3 separate regions of the Homo sapiens genome follow, and all the other regions are linked to region 3. The links are contacts of gene promoters, found by promoter capture Hi-C in human tissues and cell types (Jung and others, 2019). All regions are on one chromosome and are shown on one strand. Each heading gives the region's core, a stretch centred on a gene start or on the middle of the fragment in contact. The rest is flanking DNA. Distances are from core to core; before and after follow the strand shown.

Region 1 (2,803 bases), core at 29-2,528, 260 kb after region 3:
TTGAGAGGTGGGGCCTTTAAGAGGTGATTGGGTCACAAGAGCTCTGCCCTCATGAATAGATTAATTTATTTATAGATTAATGGGTTATCATAGGAGTGGGGCTAGTAGCTTTATAAGAAGAGAGAGACCTGAGCCAGCACGCTCAGCCCCTCACCATGCGACGCCCTGCACTGCCTTGGGACTCTGGGGTTCCCACCAGCAAGAAAACCTCACCAGATGTGGCCCATTGACCTTGGACTTCCCAGCCCGCAGAACTGTAAGAAATACATTTTGTTTCTTTTAAATTACCCAGTTTCTGTTATAAGCAGCAGGAAACAGACTAAGACAAGGGGCAAGCCAGCCTCTGCCCACAAGGAGCTCCATTCTGGTGTGGAGAGACCCAAACACACAACTATGCTCTTTGTCTTGCTAGAGACTTGTTTTGTGGTGGCCCCAACCTCAACTTGCCAGCAATTTGTAAAAGAACCAAGTCAATTTTACACAGCAAATTAAACCCCAGGGTAAATGTGTGTACCTGGATTCCAATAGTAGGTAAAGATTCTTAATGGTGAAAACTATGACTCCTGTTAAAACTCTTGTGTTCTGTTCTTACCACTGAGTTTAAACAACAACTCTGTGCTAATCGTATAAAGAATATTTTTGTCTGGACTGTCTACGGCCAAGTTCTCCACCCTGGATGTGCACAGAATCCCCTGGGGACTTCAGGAGCTCACTGGAGCTGGTTCCACCCCCATGCCCAGGCTCTGATGTGCTTGGTCTGGGCTGGGGCCTGGGCACCAGTGTTGTCCTAGTTTTGTGTTGCTATGAAGGAATATCTGAGGCTGGGTAATTTCTTTTTCTTTTTCCTAGGTGAGGAGAAGGATAGAGGCTGGGCCATTATAAAGAAAAGAGGTTTGTTTGGCTCACGGTTCTGCAGGGTGTACGGGAAGCACGGTGCCGGCACCTGCTTCTGGGGAGGCCTCAGGGAGCGTGCACTCATGGCGGGAGGTGTCTCATGGTAAGAGAAGAGGCGAGAGAGAGGGGCGATGCCAGGATTTTTTTAAAACAACCAGCTCGTGTGGGAACTAATAGAGCAAGAACTCACTCATCACCATGAGGAGGGCACTAAACCATTCATTCTGGATCCTTCCCTATGACCCGAACACCTCCCACCAGGCCCCGCCTCCAACATCGGGGATTAAATTTCAACATGAGGTTCGGGGACAAACGTCCAAACTATAGCAGGTATTTCTGAAGAACACCCAGGTGTTTCAAAGCTGGGGTGAAGCCGTGGGTTAACACTGTTTTTCAGACATGGCTGGAGACCTGGGGTTCCTACACCACAGAGTCTCCCTGCCAGAGTTCTCAGCTCCTGGGGAGGCTGAGGTGGGTGGATCACTTGAGGTCAGGAGTTTGAGATCAGCCTGGCCAACATGGTGAAACCCCGTCTCTACTAAAAATACAAAAAATGTAGCCAGGCGTGGTGGCACACACCTGTAATTCCAGCTACTCAGGAGGCTGAGGCACGAGAATCACTTGATCCTGGGAGGCGGAGGTTGCAGTGAGCTGAGATCTCACTACTGCACTCCAGCCTGGGTGACGGAGTGAGACACTGTCAAAAAAAAAAAAAAAAAGAAAGAAGAAAGAGAAGTATCATGATAAAAGAAATAATATTTTAAAAAAAGACAGTGTGGTATTTGCATCAAGATAGACAGATCAATAGAACAAATTAGAGATACCAGAAATAGACCCACAAATATGAGCAAGTGATTTTCAACAAAGCTGCAAAGGCAATTCAATAAAGGCAAGTTTTGTTCTCAGTAAATGATGCTAAACAGTTGGATATCCATATGCAAAAAAATGAACTTTGATCCATACCTTGTACTATATTAAAATATTGTCAATATGGATCATAAACCTAAATGTAAAAGCTAAAATTATAAAACTTCTATAAGAGGACATAGAAGAAAACCTTTGCAAACTTAGATCAGGCAAAACATTATTAGATAGGATATCAAAACATAATCCATCAAATAAATAAGATGTTTCATCAAAACTAAGAACTTCTGCTATTCCAAAGACACTGCTAAGAAAATGAAAAGACAAGCCCAAGGCTGTAAGACAATTTTTGCAAATCACATATTTGATAAAGGACTTGTATCCAGAGTATATCAAGAACTCTCAAAACTCAATAACGTTAATGGAAAAAAACAGATTCTGTAAAATATTTTAAAGAGGTTTATTCTGAGTCAATATGAATGACCATGGCCTGGAGAAAACAGTTTCGAGAGGTTCTGAGAAAGCCTGGAGAACACAGTTTCGAGTTTCCTGAGAAAGCCTGGAGAACAGTTTCGAGAGGTCCTGAGAAAGCCTGGAGAACACAGTTTTGAGTTTCCTTAGAAAGCCTGGAGAACACAGTTTCGAGAGGTGCTGAGAAAGCCTGGAGAACACGGTTTCGAGAGCTCCTGGGAAAGCCTGGAGAACACGGTTTCGAGAGGTCCTGAGAAAGCCTGGAGAACACGATTTCGAGAGGTCCTGAGAAAGCCTGGAGAACACGGTTTCGAGAGGTCCTGAGAAAGCCTGGAGAACATGGTTTCGAGAGGTCCTGGGAAAGCCTGGAGAACACAGTTTCGAGTTTCCTGAGAAAGCCTGGAGAACAGTTTCGAGAGGTCCTGAGAAAGCCTGGAGAACACAGTTTCGAGAGGTCCTGGGAAAGCCTGGAGAACACGGTTTCGAGAGGTCCTGAGAAAGCCTGGAGAACACAGTTTTGAGTTTCCTGAGAAAGCCTGGAGAACACAGTTTCGAGAGGTCCTGGGAAAGCCTG
Region 2 (2,700 bases), core at 151-2,650, 270 kb before region 3:
GCCTGGTCTTCCTTGTGAGTCCAAGGCCAGGTCTCAGGACAGCCACAGACAGCCCTTCCAGACAGGCTCTGGGCTCCACCTTCGGCAGCTGCCCTGAGCAGCCCACCCGGGGCAGCCTCCTGAACACCCAGGGGCTCTCCCTTGGACAGAGACCACCAAGGGCCAGCCCAGGGGCTGCATGGGGGCCGGGGGCCAGGGAGCCAAGGGCTGTTCCGTGGCCAAGCAGCCCAAGCTGAAGGGCCCACATGGGAATCCTCGACCTCCATAGTGACTGGTTCTGTTTATGCCTCTGCCCCAGGACTGAAGCCCTAGGGACACACCTCATGGATCTCAGACCCCTGGGAGGGGCCGGCTCAGGGACAGGCTGCCCAGGACCTCCGCACCCGGTCAAGTGCACTCACAGGGGCTCAGGGGCCACCCAAAGAGCTAACTCGGGAAGCCTAGGCACTCACCATTATTTTGGTTGAAAATGCTATAAATCTGACTCTTCCTAGAAGCCTACTAAGCAATTCACTTAAAAACACCCTCAGTACATGTGCAACAATGCCTGGACCACGCCTCGTCTGTGCGGCCCCTGGGCCACCTGAGCACCGGCTGGGGGCGGGGGAGGCAGGCACCCATCAGGATCTGCACCCCAAGCTCCGGGTGCATGTTCCCAACTGGAGGAGAACGGGGCGCCAGCCACACTAAACCTACAGAAAACTGTGGGAAGAAACCAAATCCATAGGATCCAGAGGTTTCACACTTGGGCTTAGCTCCCAAGTCATGAGTTAGTAACGTCCCCAGGGACCTGGCTGGGTGCAGACATGGGGGCCTCGTGACCTGCTGCACCGCGTCCAGCACCTGCAGGGTCGCGCTCGGCACCTGGCTCTGCTTCCTCTGTCTCTGCTGCACCCAGGCTCCCCCTAGCCCCCGCCCACCTGGCTCCTGATCAAGGCCCAATGTGTAAACAGTATTAATAAGCAACAGATGGAAAAATATATTTCCCAAGAAAAAAGGGGGAGGAAACGTGGGACCTGAAGACCGATTTTCCAGGTTGCTCTCGCTGTTCTGTCCCCTTCTCTCTTCTCGTGATTTGTTTTGGCGATTCCTCTCTTTGGTTCTGCAGACCACGTGACCCACCTGCCCGAGCCAGCCCTGCGGCCTCTGCCCGCTCCCTGCTGCCGCGGCTGAGAGACAGCCAGCCCTGTCCGTCCCAGGGGCCTCGCCCTCCTGTCGGCTACTTCCGCTCGTGGTCCTCTGCCATGGCAGCCACCTCAATGGTGGCCGTGTGCTCCTCAGGCCCGGGGGCAGCCCCTGCGGGCACTGTCACAATTGTGCTGGAGCCAGGCGAGGCCTGGGCCACGTTCTGCAGGGTGGGGCCCAGGCCAGGCAACGTGAGCAGCTGTAGCGGGCTGACCACCTTGAACACCGTGCTACCGTCCTGCACGGCGGCCGTGCTCAGGACCGTGAGGCTGGACGCGTCCGGGTGGATCTCCACTGTGCTGGGGTAGGTGGAGCCGGAAGAGGCCAAGACTGTGTATCCCCCGAGCAGCGGGGAGGCCGGGGAGCTGGCGGGGGGCGCCTGAAGGGAACCCTTGCCCAGGACGGTGGACGGCAGGGTGGACACCACTTTACCAAGGGGCACGCTGGTCAGCTGGGGGACGGGCACGCCCGGGCCAAGCGCCAGCTGGGCAGACTGGGTGAGCACCTGCGAGGCCATGGCGGCCGGTCCTGATGTGGCACGTGCAAGCCGGGGCCGCTTCACAGGCGGTGGCAGGGAGACCGGCGTCAGCGTCATGAGCACGTTGCTGAGGTGCTGGGACTTGTGCTTCAGCTCCTTGGCTCGGCGACGATGCTCATCACACTGCTGCTCCAGGGCTGCAGGGAGGTACAGATGGCATCACACAGGGGACGGGGGCATGGATGGCGGCATGCAGGGGATGGGGGCAGACACGCCACACCATCTGGGTGGCCCCTGGGTCAGTGGCAACCCAGGTCTGCTCACCTGATGCCACAAACCCAGATGACCACATGGCCGCCAAAGGTGAGGTCTGTGGGAGACGGGGCCCAAGATGGCCCTCGGGGTAGACACCAGCCTGTGCTGACCCAGGGTCTGCACTGACCCGGGGCCTGTGTGCAAGCGTGGCAATCCCGTCTCAGACCCTCCTGCACTGACCCAGGGCCTGCGTGCAAGCGTGGAAATGCCGTCTCAGATCCCCGCATGAGCTTTCACACACCCAGCGTGGAAAGTTGCTCTTGTGACATATTAAGAGAGAGAGGAGGAAAAGCAGCACATGTGGCACATGTGTTTAAACATAAACATGCACACACACATGCAGAGTGCACACACACAATGAACACAAACAGTGAACACACAAAGTGAAGAGTGAACACACAGTGCACACACACTGAATACACACACACTGAACACAGTGAACACACACACTGAATACACACACATTGAACACACAGTGAACACGCAGTGAACACACACACACTGAACACACACACAGTGAACACACAGTAAGCACAGACCCCAAGAGGAGCATGGAGGAAACGCACCAATATCAGGGGCTTGAGCTCTGAGCGGGGTCAGGACCAGCCCTTCCCATTCTCTGTCATTGTTTTTTTTTGAGACAGGGTCTCGCTCTGTCACCCAGACTGGAGTGCAGTGGTGTGATCTCAGCTCCCTGCAACTTCCACCTCCTGGGCTCAAGC
Region 3 (2,751 bases), core at 111-2,610:
ATTTCAGATAAACAATTTTAAAATAATGTCTCAAGCAGAAGTTGGAACATACTTATACCCAAAAAGTATTTGTTTATTTGTAATTCCAATTTAACTGGCATATTATTCTGTATTTTATCTGGCAACCTAGAATGGGGGTAATAGCCCCCCAAATCGCTCCCTTTGTTAATTGGTCCCTGTCTTCTGTCCCCCAACCCCTAAAGGCAGCAGCTGACTCCCCCAACTAGGGGCGGGGCCTGTTAGGGTCAGGCAGTGCCTCTAACCCAGACGCTGAGCAGGAGAGCAGAGAGGGGGTGCTTCAGCCTGAAACTACCCCTTCCCCAGAAGGCTGGGGTCCCAGGCGGGCCTGGCACCTGGGCTCAGAGGCTCTGGCTGGATTTGCCAAACTCCCTGATTGTAGCATGTTTGTTTCTGGTCTGGGGAGCTGTTGAGTACCTGGAGCTGCCCTCTTCCCTGGGGCTCCTCCTGGCAGGCGGCTTCCGACCCTGCCCTCAGGTGGGCTGGCCCTTTCCAGGGCAGGAGAAAAGATACCTCTCCAGAAAAGAGGGAGGCGCAGCCTGGGAGTGGGGGCTCGACCCAGGAGCGAGAAAGAGGAACCCCAGCCAGGCAGGACCCGCCCCAGAAGGTCACTGCTGTTGCTGGCAGCCAGTGAAAAGAGGATCCAGAAAAGGAGAGGGCTTGTTTCTGGTCAGCACCGAAGAAGGAAGGTGTGGAGAGGAGGGGCCGGGCCGAGAGCAAATACCGCCTTTTTGGTGCAGCAGCAGCCCTGTCTCTGACCCCGGCCGTCCTGGGGAGATGAGGTTTAAACCAGCAGACCCTGAAGGGAAACTTGCAGGACCCACAGCAAGCCTGGTACAGGCGGAGGAGGCCTTGCTGTCCCTTTTTGGCCCGTGGGGCTGTCCATCTTAAATTTAAGGAAGAGGGAGGCGGGGTGCAGGGACTCACACCTGTAATCCCAACACTGTGGGAGGTGGAGGCGGGGTGCAGGGACTCACACCTGTAATCCCAACACTGTGGGAGGTGGAGGCGGGAGGATCGCTTGAGCCCAGGGGTTCAAGACCAGCCTAGGCAGCATAGTGAGACCCCATCTCAATTTAATAAATAAATAAGGAAGAAAGAGGGAGACAGTAGCTGCTCAAATCATGGGTGGGAAAGCTGGGCCTGGGAGCGTTTAGCTGGTGGGGTCTTGGCGAAGGCGGGGGACGGGCAGAACCTTGGGTTCATCATCTCTGGGAACCCTTTGTGCACCCATCACCTAGCAACAGGATGCAGCCTTCCCTCCGCCCTGGAAGGCCAGGTCACAAAGGCCATCAGGGCTTGTCCGGGAGCCGGTATCCCCTAAGACTGCCCTGTGCCTCTCGCGGCGATCCCGGCCCAGCGGCTGGGCGTTAGGGCCACCGCTCATGTGCGTCATCTGCTTCGTGAAGGCGCTGGTGCGCGTGTTCAAGATCTACCTGACCGCCAGCTACACCTACCCATTCCGCGGCTGGCCCGTGGCCTTCCGCTGGGATGACGTGCGCGCCGTGGGCCGGAGCAGCAGCCACCGGGCGCTGACCTGCGCGGCAGCCGCGGCGGGCGTGTGGTTGCTGCGGGACGAGACGCTGGGCGGGGATGCGCTGGGGCGGCCTCCACGTGGGGCGCGCAGCCAGGCGCAGTGCCTCTTGCAGCAGCTCCGCGAGCTGCCCGGCCAGCTCGCTAGCTACGCGCTGGCCCACTCGCTGGGCCGCTGGCTCGTGTACCCCGGCTCCGTGTCCCTGATGACGCGCGCGCTGCTGCCGCTGCTGCAGCAGGGCCAAGAGCGCCTCGTGGAGCGCTACCACGGCCGGCGCGCCAAGCTGGTGGCCTGTGACGGCAACGAGATCGACACTATGTTCATGGACCGCCGCCAGCACCCGGGCAGCCACGTGCACGGGCCGCGCCTCGTCATCTGCTGCGAAGGCAACGCGGGCTTCTACGAGATGGGCTGTCTGTCTGCACCGCTCGAGGCCGGCTACTCCGTGCTGGGCTGGAACCACCCCGGCTTCGGCAGCAGCACTGGCGTGCCCTTCCCTCAGCACGACGCCAACGCCATGGACGTGGTGGTCGAGTACGCACTGCACCGCCTGCACTTCCCGCCCGCGCACCTGGTGGTCTACGGCTGGTCTGTTGGCGGCTTCACGGCCACCTGGGCCACCATGACCTACCCGGAGCTGGGTGCACTGGTGCTGGACGCCACCTTCGACGACCTTGTGCCGCTGGCGCTGAAGGTCATGCCCCACAGTTGGAAGGGGCTGGTGGTGCGCACCGTGCGCGAGCACTTCAACCTCAACGTGGCCGAGCAGCTGTGCTGCTACCCGGGGCCGGTGCTGCTGCTCCGACGCACGCAGGATGACGTGGTCAGCACTTCGGGCCGCCTGCGCCCCCTGTCACCTGGTGACGTGGAGGGCAACCGGGGCAATGAGCTGCTGCTGCGCCTGCTGGAGCACCGCTACCCCGTCGTGATGGCGCGAGAGGGCCGCGCCGTCGTCACCCGCTGGCTGCGCGCTGGCAGCTTGGCGCAGGAGGCCGCCTTCTATGCACGCTACCGCGTGGACGAGGACTGGTGCCTGGCGCTGCTGCGCTCCTACCGTGCACGCTGCGAAGAGGAGCTGGAGGGCGAGGAGGCCCTGGGGCCACACGGACCCGCCTTCCCATGGCTGGTGGGCCAGGGCCTGAGCTCGCGGCGGCGCCGGCGCCTCGCACTGTTCCTGGCTCGGAAGCACCTCAAGAACG

What was found. Contacts are between HindIII fragments. The study calls those that stand out against the background at their distance.
Region 1: a contact is called between a fragment that was not itself captured here and the fragment with the promoter of ABHD16B in region 3, in 1 of the 25 tissues and cell types used here (lymphoblastoid cells).
Region 2: a fragment that was not itself captured here is called in contact with the fragment with the promoter of ABHD16B in region 3 in 3 of the 25 tissues and cell types used here (lymphoblastoid cells, spleen and stomach).

What each region holds. Positions count from the first base shown.
Region 1 is chr20:64,120,808-64,123,610 of GRCh38, forward strand. No RefSeq gene overlaps it. Among named protein-coding and RNA genes, the nearest start is that of NPBWR2, 15 kb to the left of the region's middle. RefSeq lists an enhancer at 2,307-2,803. The HindIII fragment of the contact is 5,841 bases long and covers 1-2,803 here.
Region 2 is chr20:63,588,870-63,591,569 of GRCh38, forward strand. It overlaps GMEB2 (glucocorticoid modulatory element binding protein 2), which reads right to left. Exons shown (of 10, transcript NM_012384.5): 10 at 1-1,860. The coding sequence ends at 1,220. Among named protein-coding and RNA genes, the nearest start is that of HELZ2, 16 kb to the left of the region's middle. RefSeq lists an enhancer at 1,459-1,628. The HindIII fragment of the contact is 3,144 bases long and covers 1-2,700 here.
Region 3 is chr20:63,860,138-63,862,888 of GRCh38, forward strand. It overlaps ABHD16B (abhydrolase domain containing 16B), which reads left to right and starts at 1,361. Exons shown (of 1, transcript NM_080622.4): 1 at 1,361-2,751. The coding sequence starts at 1,404. ABHD16B-AS1 (ABHD16B antisense RNA 1) reads right to left here. Exons shown (of 2, transcript NR_165314.1): 2 at 1,078-2,751. The HindIII fragment of the contact is 14,540 bases long and covers 1-2,751 here.